Linked DNA regions of Homo sapiens: all the other regions are linked to region 3. Evidence: promoter capture Hi-C in 16 types of primary human blood cells and fetal thymus (Javierre and others, 2016). All regions are on one chromosome and are shown on one strand. Each heading gives the region's core, a stretch centred on a gene start or on the middle of the fragment in contact. The rest is flanking DNA. Distances are from core to core; before and after follow the strand shown.

Region 1 (2,962 bases), core at 362-2,861, 2.7 Mb after region 3:
GTTGAAAGTGAAGCTGAAACTGCTTAAATATTTTCTATCTGAGAAAGATAGCTCTTAGAATTAGGCAGTAGTCTATGCTACAGACATGGATCAATTGGTTCCACCTGTGAAGGAGAGACAGGGTGCAGATTATGAACAAGGCTGCACATGTCACTTTTCAAATTTGAGAGGATACAACACTGGAAGGCGTAAACAATGTAATAGTTGATGACAAAATTGAGATTCAGGTTATCTCAAAAGACTGGAATGCTGAGTGAATACCAAGAACATGGAATCTGATAAAAACTAATCTCAAGGCATGCTTTAGATTAAAAAAGAGAGAGAGAGAGAGAAAAAGAAATGTAAAGTAGTAAATACTGCAGACAGTAGTTTGTGGTTATCAGACCTGACTTGGCTGTAACTCAATAATCACCAACAGTGCCAAGAAGCTGCTAAAAAGAAAAGCATATGTTGCCTTAATAAAAGTTGAGTGTACATAAATGTGAAAAGCATAGCCTCTTCTTGGAATGTTAAGTATAAATATCTGAAATACTGGGCTTGATATGTCAACAGGAGATTGATGGATAAAAATAGAATTTTATATAAAAAACAACTGGACATATTAGATTGTTAACTTGGAAGAAAGACCATATTCAAAGAAGAAAACATAGTGACTAATTTCAAACATTTAAAGTCTTCCCTGTGGAAACAAAGGAATATCTTTGTTCTAACACTTCAAAGAACAGGGTTAAAAAATAGACTCACCACAAAGTAAATGCACAATTGACAATCGTGAATGAATTAAAAACCAAACAAAATATTTTGTCAGCTTTCTATCTATGAAACTAAGAAACAGGCTTCCTACTAAGGTAATGAATGTAATTCACAGAGAACATTCACGTATAAGTTTCATTCATGTTTCAAATTTCATTGATTTGATCAATGGGTTATTCTAATACCCTCCCTTATTTCTTCTGAGATTCTATTCACTTTTATAATCATTTCACTTTTTATTGAAAATTAGCTCTATATGAATTCATGTTTATTTCAATTTCTTGAAGAGTCTTAAGAAGATTGCTTAATATTGAGAAAATAATTAACTCTCCAATAAAAGATACTTAGGGATTAGTAATTTTACAACAGCTAAGGTCAATTAATTGGCAATCTAGTATTTTTATTATAAAACATGCACAGTCAAGAAAAAGAGATGTTCCCTTCTCACCCACCACATTTATGCCACTGCATGGGGTGATACATTTCATGTGGAAATCTCTTGATTTGGGTGTGTGTTTTGGGGTGGGGGTTTCAGCCAAAATGGCAAAAATTCTTAAAATCTTTGACCAGCATGGTTTTCTTCTCATGAGCCACAGTTGACCAACGCTTCATTTTCAATGTTTCTTTACAATTTCTCTTTTCTTCAAGGTCTAGTATTCTGTTATAACAAAGGTTATGAGGGCAAGCTTCCATTTCTCTCTTCGTTAAGAGAATAAATTCTCTCTACCTTTGGTAAAAATGCACACAGACAGCAGCAAAGGAGGAAGAGTTTAAAGCTAGAAAGATAAAGAGTATGTTTACACATTTGGCATAAAATCTTTTAAGATTCTTAAACTGTTAATACTTAAATATTCATAATGGATTACACTATTTCTGCAGTGATGCTAATTGGTTATTAAGATGGCTTAAACCATTGATTTGAAAGAGCTAAGTTTGAAGTTTTTTTGGACATCCTGAAACTGCCTAAGGTGAAAAGGGCTCAGGTGTACATAATTTATGAATTGATTATCATACTGTCCAGAAAAGCTTATACAGCCTCCAGGCTATTTGGGTGCTACCATATCAAGTGCACCTTATTTAAATGCATCAGCTTTCTATTTCCAGGTTCATGGTTTGCCATCCCGTATGAAATATTTTAAATTAAATAACAACAATGGAATAAGGAAAGTAAAATGGATAATAATAAGGGAACAAACAATAATACGCTGAACTTCCAGGTCAAAATAATTTTGCAAAGTCTTTCATATTGAAAAGAAAAAAATCTGTAAGTGATAAAAAATATTAATACCCTTGCTAAAATAAAAATAATGGTAAGCATAATAACTAATCATTAAACTTTTTCTCTATGAAAGTACTAATTAGCACAAAAAGATGATATATTTATCCTGAGAAATAAGCTGAAATAGATTAACAAAATTAAGAGTCAAAAATTTTGCCTTTGTGAAGACTCAGTAATTCAGCTTAAACTTAATTCCAGTTGTGGAACAGAAAAGAAACGTTTTTATTTTCTTTCCAGCTCCTTAATTTGCCACTGCTTATACATTTTTCTTAGAATCGCCTCAATAAAAAAATTGAACTATCATGGAAATATGAAATAACTGCCACATTGTATGCTTCTGCTCACTGAACTACGGGATTGAGATCAGAAAATGTTGCTAAAGTACACGAAAGTGGTACTAATAGTTTAAACTTCATTGACACGTCAATGCTGAGAATGTTTCTCTAAGAGCCTAAAACTGCCTGGAAACTGTATAAGGAAGAAAATGTGAGGCTCTATAAAGTCAGAATTTGCAATTTCTCTTACGGCATATGAATCAATAAATGCTGCAATGAGGGCCAACAGAATAATTTCGGCTTACCTTGCAACTCCTTGTTCCCCTACTTTTTATTTTTATTTATCATGGGGCTTAATTGATTTATAAAATTAACATACTTTGATAAACTGTGTCTAGAGCAATGTCCATTAACATTGGTAAAGCAACAACTTAGTTACATGGTTTAAGTGAGGCATTTTTTAAAAAGAGAGAAGCATATATTTATATATAAGATTGCATCAAAAATTTAATTACCAGTACTATTCATTAGTTACATTAAGGAAATCTCTTTGCAGCTGACATATATGGGTGTTACCCACTTTATTTGCATTCTTCTCTTCCTTGCTAAGAGAAGCGCCATTTTGTTAACAACGGCAACGTGTCCAGTCAATGTG
Region 2 (2,923 bases), core at 236-2,735, 2.8 Mb after region 3:
CTTACACAATATTCCCATCAGAAGAAGCAACAGTGCAAGAAGCAACAGTGCAAGAAGCAGTTTCAGATTGCAAGGTAGGTGCTTTGCCATTAAATGCAATTGACTCTCCCTTAGGGAGATACCTTTTAAAGCTTGTATTTGTTAGAGAAGATAAATACATCTTCTGTTTATTTTCTATCATCTTCTGCATAATCTGGACTGTCTACATAATCTACATAAACTGGACTATCCATCCAGTAAGATATAGCTTTGTTCACCCCATCCCTTCCTTTGAGAATTACCATTTGTGGTATCACATTCCCATTCAGTCTTTGATAACTTTGGTCTTCTATCCTCAAATTTTACTAGGTTTAATTATAACAGAAAGTTAAAGATCTCACATGTTAACTGTCCTTTGCAACAACCTGTTAATAATAATAAAAACATACCGATTATATGTAACCTGAATGTTCCTGGTCTGTGGCCCTAGGACATTTCACAAGGGACTTTTGCCTATGTCAATTGGGAAAGGACCTCAGAATTGCCCAGTATCTTTCCTGTAGCCAAGAGAGTAAAATTCTGTGTTTGCTTTTGGAAGGCAGTTATCTTTATATTACACCTAAGTTATTCAGGGACTTGGGCAAAGAGTCTGAACTATTTTTAAAGTTTTGAGGGGTCATGTTTCTCTCCCTAGAGCACATGGAATCTTTGCAGCTGTCTCTAACTCCATTTTTGGTAATGATGTTGGGAGATTTTATTGTGCAATTAGAAATAAGAGCATACATCTGAACTTTGTCATACAAAGAAACAAATTCCAAGTAATGTAAGGTAAATGTTCTCAGTTTAAGGTTTAGGGTCATCAATCCTAATACCAATGTTACTATTATTACTGATGATGATGACAGTGATAAGAAGAGGAACAACAGGTTGTACTTTCTGTATAGTACTTACCATGTGCCACATAATGTTATATGCAGTATATTATTAAATAAATCATTTAATCTTCATCCAAAGCAACACTATGATATGAATACTACTTTTATCCCATTTAACAGGTGAAGAAAATGAAGCAAAAAGGAGATAAGTGACTTTGGCCAAGATAGAAACTGCCTCAACCATTTGGAGGCTCTGAAAGAATCTGATTTGGGAATGGCTAGCTGCTATCACAAATCCACTGGAAGAAAATGCTAAAGCAAAGAACAGATACTTGTTGAGTGAGAAGAAGAGGCTGAGTCTAGCAAGAGATGTATTGTTGAGCATCACAGGAAGTCATACTTCTGCGGCAAGGTCTCTAATACACATTTGCCATTTTCCATGGCAGGGCTTAGCAGCTTAGAGACCGAAATGGAAAACCGATCTATTTAGGTTGAATTAATCCAGGAAGCTGCTCAATACATAGTCCCAAAACTCAGGTTTCTACATAATACAGGTTAAGGATTGCCAAACAGAACATGAGTTAGTGCCAAAATTCATCAGGACCATACACCAGGGGTGCCTTATTTAAAAAGTAAATTTGTAATTAAAATTATTTGACTGGGTGGAACTAAGCACATTTACTTTTTTAAATTTCTGACTCTTTGTAATCTCAGAGTGGAAGTTGATTATACCACAAAGTTAGGCAAAGCATAAGCACTGTGATCTACCACGTATAGACTTCAGTATAATACACTTGTGAAGTGATATGGCTTGGCTGTGTCCCCACCCAAATCTCTTCTTGAACTGTAGTTCCCATAATCCCCATGTGTCATGGGAGGGACCCCATGAAAAATAATTGAATCATGGGGGTGGTTACTTCCATGTTATTCTCGTGATAGTGAGTGAGTTCTCACAAGATCTGATGGTTTTATAAGGGGCCGTTCCCTCTCTTTGTTCTGCACTTCTCCTTGCTGCTGCCATGTGTTTGCTTTCCCTTTTGCCATGATTGTAAGTTTCCTGATGCCTCTGCAGCCATACTGAACTGTGAGTCAATTAAACCTTTATAAATTACCCAGTTTCCCATGCATCTTTATCAGCAGTGTGAGAACAAACTAATATAGTAAATTGGTACCAGTAGAGTGGGGTGCTGCCATAAAGATACCCCTAGATGTGGAAGTGAGTTCGGAACTGGGTAACAGGCACAGGTTAGAACGCTTGGAGGGCTCAGAAAAAGACAGGAAAATGTGGGAAAGTTTGGAACTTCCCAGAGACTTGGAGGGCTCAGAAGACAGGAAGATGTGGGAAAGTTTGGAACTTCCTAGAGACTCGTTGAATGGCTTTGACCAAGATGCTGATGGTGACATGGACAATTAAGTACAGGCTGAGGTGGTCTCAGATAGAGATGAGAAACTTGTTGGGAACTGGAGTAAAGTTCCAAGGAGTAAAGATCACTCTTGCTATGCAAAGAGACTGGAAGCATTTTGCCTCTACCCTAGAGATCTATGGAACTTTGAACTTGAGAGAGATGATTTAGGGTATCTGGTGGAAGACATTTCTAAGTGGCAGTGTATTCAAAAGGAAGCAAGGCATAAAAGTTCAAAACATTTGCAGCCTGCCTATGCAATAAAAAAGAAAACCCAGTTTCCTGGGGAGAAATTCAAGCAGGATGCAGACATTTGTATAAATAATGAGGAGGCAAATGTTAATCACCAAGAAAATAGGGAAAATATCTCCAGGGCATGTCAGAGACCTTCATGGCAGCCCCTCCAATCACAATCCCAGAGGCCTAGGAGGAAAAAATGGTTTCCTGAGCTGGGTCCAGGGCTACCTGGCTCTGTGAGTCTCAGGACTTGGTGCCCTGAGTCCCAGCTGATACAATCATAACTAAAAGTGGCCAAGGTATGGCTCAGGCCATGGCTTCAGAGGGTGCAAGCCCCAAGCTTTGGCAGCTTTCACGTGCTGTTGGGCCTCAGGTCCACAGAAGACAAGAATTGTGGTCTGGGAATCTCTGACTTGATTTTGGAGGATT
Region 3 (2,700 bases), core at 135-2,634:
AGACTAATGTTTCAAAAACGGATACTTAAAAGCAACGTACCATAAAAATCTTCAGAAATTGTTACAAAGAAGAGTGAAAGAAAACAAGGTGTTTTACCATATGCATTTTTAAATTTAGCGTAGTGGATACTTTGTTTTAAAAATACATAATTTGTAGAATTACTGCCCAGTTTGTGTTTGAAACATAAATCCTGGGGTGGACGGCATTAAATTGAAAAAAAACGTGGGCATACAGTATATTTTAATTTTTCATACTGAATCGTACATTTGCACTGTGCCTTATTTCTACCGTGTTCTTCCTACTGTTGGACATATAAAAAGATTTTCCTTGGAACTGTGACTTGATTAGATGCTGCAGTATGCTGGATCCGGGTCGGTGGACCGCAGAGCGCTCGAGATGCGGAGAAGCAAAGCTGGCCGCTAGTGGGCGCTGTGGCTCCGTGGAAGTCACGGACGAGCGTCAGCACCGGCGCTCGACCGGGAAAGTAGCGAGGAGTTCCTGCCAGCTCTGCTCTGGGGTCTTGCAGACGCCGAGTGAGAAGCACATGCCTTGACTTTTCCATCTCACACCCTCTAAATCTCTGGTCACTTTGGGAAGCGCGCGTGTCTCCTAGAGGCTAGTGAGACGGTCCCCGCGTCGTGCCTGTGCCGGCGACACGCGGGGAAAGCTCCAGGGGCGCCACCTTCCCGGGGGGCCAGGAGGGAAGGGAGACGCCCGCAGAGAAGGCGGGAGGCGACGATGCTCAGGCCCTGATTAGAGCTGCAAATTCCGGCGCCGCGTCGCAGGAATCGTCTTGCAATTCCCGGCCCCACTGACTGAAACTGAGCCGTAGGCGATTGGTACCAAAATCAAGTGAGAAGCCCTCGCCGAGAGGCGTCGGGAGAAGCGCGCAGAAGCCGGGAGCTCTAAGGGTGCGCGCGGAGTGCAAGTCTTGCACGCGGGGCAGCGCCGCATCTGCGGAGAAGGGACGCCGAGCGGAGCCTGCTGCCTTCCGCACTGCTCGAGGGAAAGCCGCGCCCTCTGATTCCGCCGAGGGGGAAGGCGCCCCCGGGCGCGGAGACAGGTGGCCCGCTACTCGGCCGTCGCTGTTTCCACGTCTGCACCGCGCCCAGAAGGCCTCTCGCCGCCCCGGGGGCGCCCTGTGCACGCGCTGAGCGCTTCTCCTGCCCGGCTTCTGCTCCGCTCCCGCCGCCCGCGGGAGCCAGGGGCGGGGCTCACCTGTCAGCCCGAGCCCCGCCTCGCGGCACCCAATGTCGGGAGGGGATGGCGGACGGACGGACCGGCCGTCCAACCAGCGCGCGGCCGCGGAGCCGCGGGCCAATGGGCTTCGCGCGGCGGGGCGGGGCCCCGCGTTTATAGCGCTCTGACAGCGCGGCGGCCGCGCTGACTCTCCTCGGCGGGGACCGCGGCGCCGGCCGGAGCGAGGAGCTGCGCACGCAGCGGGTCCCGGCGCCCTCCCCGCACACAAAGGCCCGCGCGCGTCCGGAGCCCGCGGCGGGGACCGAGCTCCCTCTTTCCTGCCCTGGGGGCCGGGAGCCGCGCGGACTGAGAAGGCTCCTGCGCGCCCGGAGGCGCCCTACTCCGCTCCGTGCTCCGGGACATGGAACCGCGCCGACGCGGCGCCCGCGCGCTCGGGCCGCTGCCCGCTGCACTGGATCTATAGTCACAGGCGGCCCCGCTCGGGGCGCAGCGCCCGCCGCCCGCGCCGGTCGTCTCCGCTCCGGGTCTTTGTGTCCCAGCCCGCACCCGCCCCGCGCCCACCCGCCAGCCGCGGCCGGCCCGGCACCCTGGAGCCGCACGGGAGTCGGCCGTCCGAGCTGCGTCCGGCGCGGCGCCCCGGAACCCCGAGTCCGCCGCGCCGCCGCGCCCCGCGCGTGCGCTCCCGCCCCGCGCCCTGAGGGCCCCGGAGAGCGAGCGCACCTGGCCCGGCGACCGCTGGAGCTGCGCAGCGCGCCTCGGAGCTGCCTGCGGGCGCACGCCGTCTTCCCCGCCAGTCTGCCCCGGAGGATTGGGGGTCCCAGCCTGCGTCCCGTCAGTCCCTTCTTGGCCCGGAGTGCGCGGAGCTGGGAGTGGCTTCGCCATGGCTGTGAGAAGGGACTCCGTGTGGAAGTACTGCTGGGGTGTTTTGATGGTTTTATGCAGAACTGCGATTTCCAAATCGATAGTTTTAGAGCCTATCTATTGGAATTCCTCGAACTCCAAGTAAGTGGCGTCCGCGATCCCCCTATGTCCCCGCCCCGGGGTCCGCCGCGCCGTCCGGGCGGGAGGAGGGGTCAGTCCGCGGGGCCTCGGAGCCTGTTTCTGGAACCTCGGTTCCCCGTCCCCCACCCCCAACCCCCGCCCCATTTCACTAGGTGGAGACTCCTCGCTCGGCTTTCCAACCCGAGCCCCGCTGGAACGGACGGTCTCTCCGCCTTTCCTCCCCCGAACGCTCCCAGGCGCTAAAAGCTACTATCGGCTCGGGTGTCAAGTCCGGGAAGGTGTCCGATGGCGATACCTGACCCTCTCCTGTTTTCGAGGACGAAGGACATGGCCACAATCTAGGCTGGCCGGCACGCGGGGACTGGTGGGCTCTGGAGAGAGGCGGAGATGCTGCATTCGCGGGGAGCGCGGGCGGCGTGGTCCGGGGCCCGCGGGCGGGCGACCGGGGTGGCAGGACGCTGGCAGCGAAGCGCGTTCTGGAGAGGGGAGCCTGGAGT
Region 4 (2,700 bases), core at 151-2,650, 2.2 Mb after region 3:
CGCCAAAGCAGCAAGTGGCCACTACACGTTTTCACTGTAAAACGTGGAGTGTCTGGAGGGGTTTTTACAGTTTATCTGTCCTGCCCTCAGATTTTCCTCACAGGAAGTCACTCCTACTTCTCTTCTTCTGCCACCAATATTTCTTTTTAACATTCAGTGAAGAGCTGTGGGCAAGAATTTGTAAGTGAATGCAATGCACACACCCTGTATGTGTGGGGCTGTCAGGATACTCAACCATCTGATCACCACACAGTCTGACTTTCAAACTTTATTAAGGTCCATCTGTTTTTGTCTCATTTGCATCTATTTTATTAAATAATTCACCTAACTTAGTTATTTAGCACCCACTCAGTTCCAAGAATTTTTATAGATGTGATTTTTCTTCTTTCAATAGTAACACATTTTTATATTTCATGTTTAAGTTTTATATTTTTCTAACCATATAGAGACACTAAATACCTATAACATATCCTGTTCTCAGTTTCTTACTTCACACTGTACCATATTGTTGTTAGCTACGCTTTTAGGTCAAATGTAATTGCCTTGCAGTGCATAATTGTATATCTTTGATTACATCTATATTTACTGATATGTAAACCAATCTTTGTGGTATGTTTTTGAATCACTTACATATCTGAAATAGTAATATATTTTCTCAAACATGAATTTTCCTTTAGCTGTGTATAAAACACAGGATAAAATTTATCATGCCTTGATACTTTAACAATATTTCTTAACTGTCTGCTGCATTCACTGGAGATAATGAAGCATATGTTATATATCTGATTCTTATTCCTTCGAAGGTACTAGAAAAATTAGCATAGACTAGGATTAAAAGTTAAGATTTTGAATTTTGGATATACCACTTACTATATATACATGTTATGTGAGGAAGCTATTTAAATAATTTGTGCCCTAGTTTTCATGCCCGTAACGTAATGATAATAATATTAGTTACCTCCTCAGATCATTGTAATGGTTAAATTATGTAGTTAAAAGAGATACTTAGGCCTTCAAATAGAAAAGGCTGAATAACTGTGAGCTGTTATTGTTCTTTCTCTGTAAAACTTTTAGCATTTTTTAATTTTCAAAATTCTGAATTGTACTGTAATGTATCTAAGTGTGACTATTATTTCTTACCTAATACTCCATAGGTCTCAGAGTGCAAATACACAAAGAAAAGAAAACATGCAGTACTGCTTCAATAATCAAGTGATGAACAGTCAGGAAACATACCAGAGTCTGAGAAGATAAAGATTGGTCACAATATGTGTGTGGTGACCCATTACAATAGCTGCCAGCTGTGATAACTTGGAAATCAGAACACACGCTGGCCAAGCCCATAGCTTCAAGATACGAGGTTAGATAACTATTAGTTGCACGTGATGGTAGTTTCTTGATGCAACAAGAGATAAAATTGAGCAAAAGTCAATTTGTTTGAGATAAGAAGTAAAGGCCAAAGAGAGAATGCAGAGATGTGGCACATTGTAAAACTGGAACCTGGCTGAATACCAGAGTGAAATGAATAAGGCTGAAAGTAAAAACTTTGAACAACAAGGTCGGGGAAGAATCATCACTTAAACAGGGAAGCTAAGCCCTGTGGCAAAGATCAGATTAATGGTTTCCTTAATCTGTTTTAATCTTAATCTTAATCACCAAATTGTTTTAAATGGTTTCAAAGTGGTCTCCTTTAGGTTTACAAGAGAGAAAACATAGGCGGAAGAAATTGGCCAACTTGAGATTTACACAGAGACAATGACTTTACCTGGGGTTACTGAAAACAGAAGGAAATAGCTCAAAAGGCCAATGGCATTTGTGGGGATTATATTCCCAAGGATACCTTGAGTCTGGCCCAAGTAATCCTATGATGGTGAAAAACCCAAAATCAGGCTAGGAAACTGCCATTCTCCAAGATGGCATTCTCCAAGATGGCATTCTCTTCTCCAAGATGGCATTCTCTTCTCCAAGATGGCATTCTTTCAGATGTGGTCTAGGAAGAAACTGAACAAGGAGGAAGTTCCCAGCATTTGGAAACAGAAGACAGGATGTATAGTGGAAGAATCTTTCAATCAATGAGACTTCCTTACAGAGAGCAGATTCAGAGACTTGTCAGGGAACTTCCTTCATTGCAAGGGCAGGGGGCCCTCCCCCTGCCTGCATAGCACATTTCATATGGCCTAGTGACTCTCGGGTATTATGCAGTATTACCTGAGGCTCCATCACTCTATAATTTGATTTTGGTGGTGGGAACAATGGGGAGACTGATGTGTCATCTAACTTTCATGTAGAACAGATGAGGAAGCTGATGATTCGTCTCATCCTCCTCAAGGCTGATCTGGATACAGACACTGGATGGGACTTTGCTTTGTCTTCCTTGGAAAGGATGGAAAATGTTCTCTGTACAAGTAAAAAGTAACTCATGCAGTTATTTTCTTGTAAGAGGGGCAGATGGAGTCTTGAATGAGCTAGTTGTTCCCAAAATCCATGCTCTTTCTATAGTATGGGAGTTTCATTGCAACATAGCTGTTTATCCAGAAACTAACTATCCTAAGCCTCTTGCAACTAGAAGTATCCACATCAGTACCTGTCAGAAGTGATGTGTGGGTATTTAAGAAGCTGATATGCCACATTCACTTACTCTTTCCCCTCGTCACACTACAGACACAGGATTCTTGGGCCATTCCTGATTAAAAAAAAAAA

The links. Contacts are between HindIII fragments. The CHiCAGO score rates a contact against its expected background, and 5 or more counts as called.
Region 1: a contact is called between a fragment that was not itself captured here and the fragment with the promoter of EFNB2 in region 3, in 1 of 17 cell types (megakaryocytes). The highest score is 8.5, in megakaryocytes.
Region 2: a fragment that was not itself captured here is called in contact with the fragment with the promoter of EFNB2 in region 3 in 1 of 17 cell types (fetal thymus); the score reaches 7.3 in fetal thymus.
Region 4: a contact is called between a fragment that was not itself captured here and the fragment with the promoter of EFNB2 in region 3, in 1 of 17 cell types (fetal thymus). The highest score is 9.5, in fetal thymus.

Annotation. Positions count from the first base shown.
Region 1 is chr13:103,876,805-103,879,766 of GRCh38, reverse strand. No RefSeq gene overlaps it. Among named protein-coding and RNA genes, the nearest start is that of LINC01309, 450 kb to the right of the region's middle. The HindIII fragment of the contact is 340 bases long and covers 1,442-1,781 here.
Region 2 is chr13:103,768,441-103,771,363 of GRCh38, reverse strand. No RefSeq gene overlaps it. Among named protein-coding and RNA genes, the nearest start is that of LINC01309, 340 kb to the right of the region's middle. The HindIII fragment of the contact is 2,703 bases long and covers 134-2,836 here.
Region 3 is chr13:106,534,346-106,537,045 of GRCh38, reverse strand. It overlaps EFNB2 (ephrin B2), which reads left to right and starts at 1,384. Exons shown (of 5, transcript NM_004093.4): 1 at 1,384-2,203. The coding sequence starts at 2,082. RefSeq lists an enhancer at 287-356 and a silencer at 937-1,596. The HindIII fragment of the contact is 2,990 bases long and covers 1-2,700 here.
Region 4 is chr13:104,310,623-104,313,322 of GRCh38, reverse strand. No RefSeq gene overlaps it. Among named protein-coding and RNA genes, the nearest start is that of LINC01309, 890 kb to the right of the region's middle. The HindIII fragment of the contact is 8,470 bases long and covers 1-2,700 here.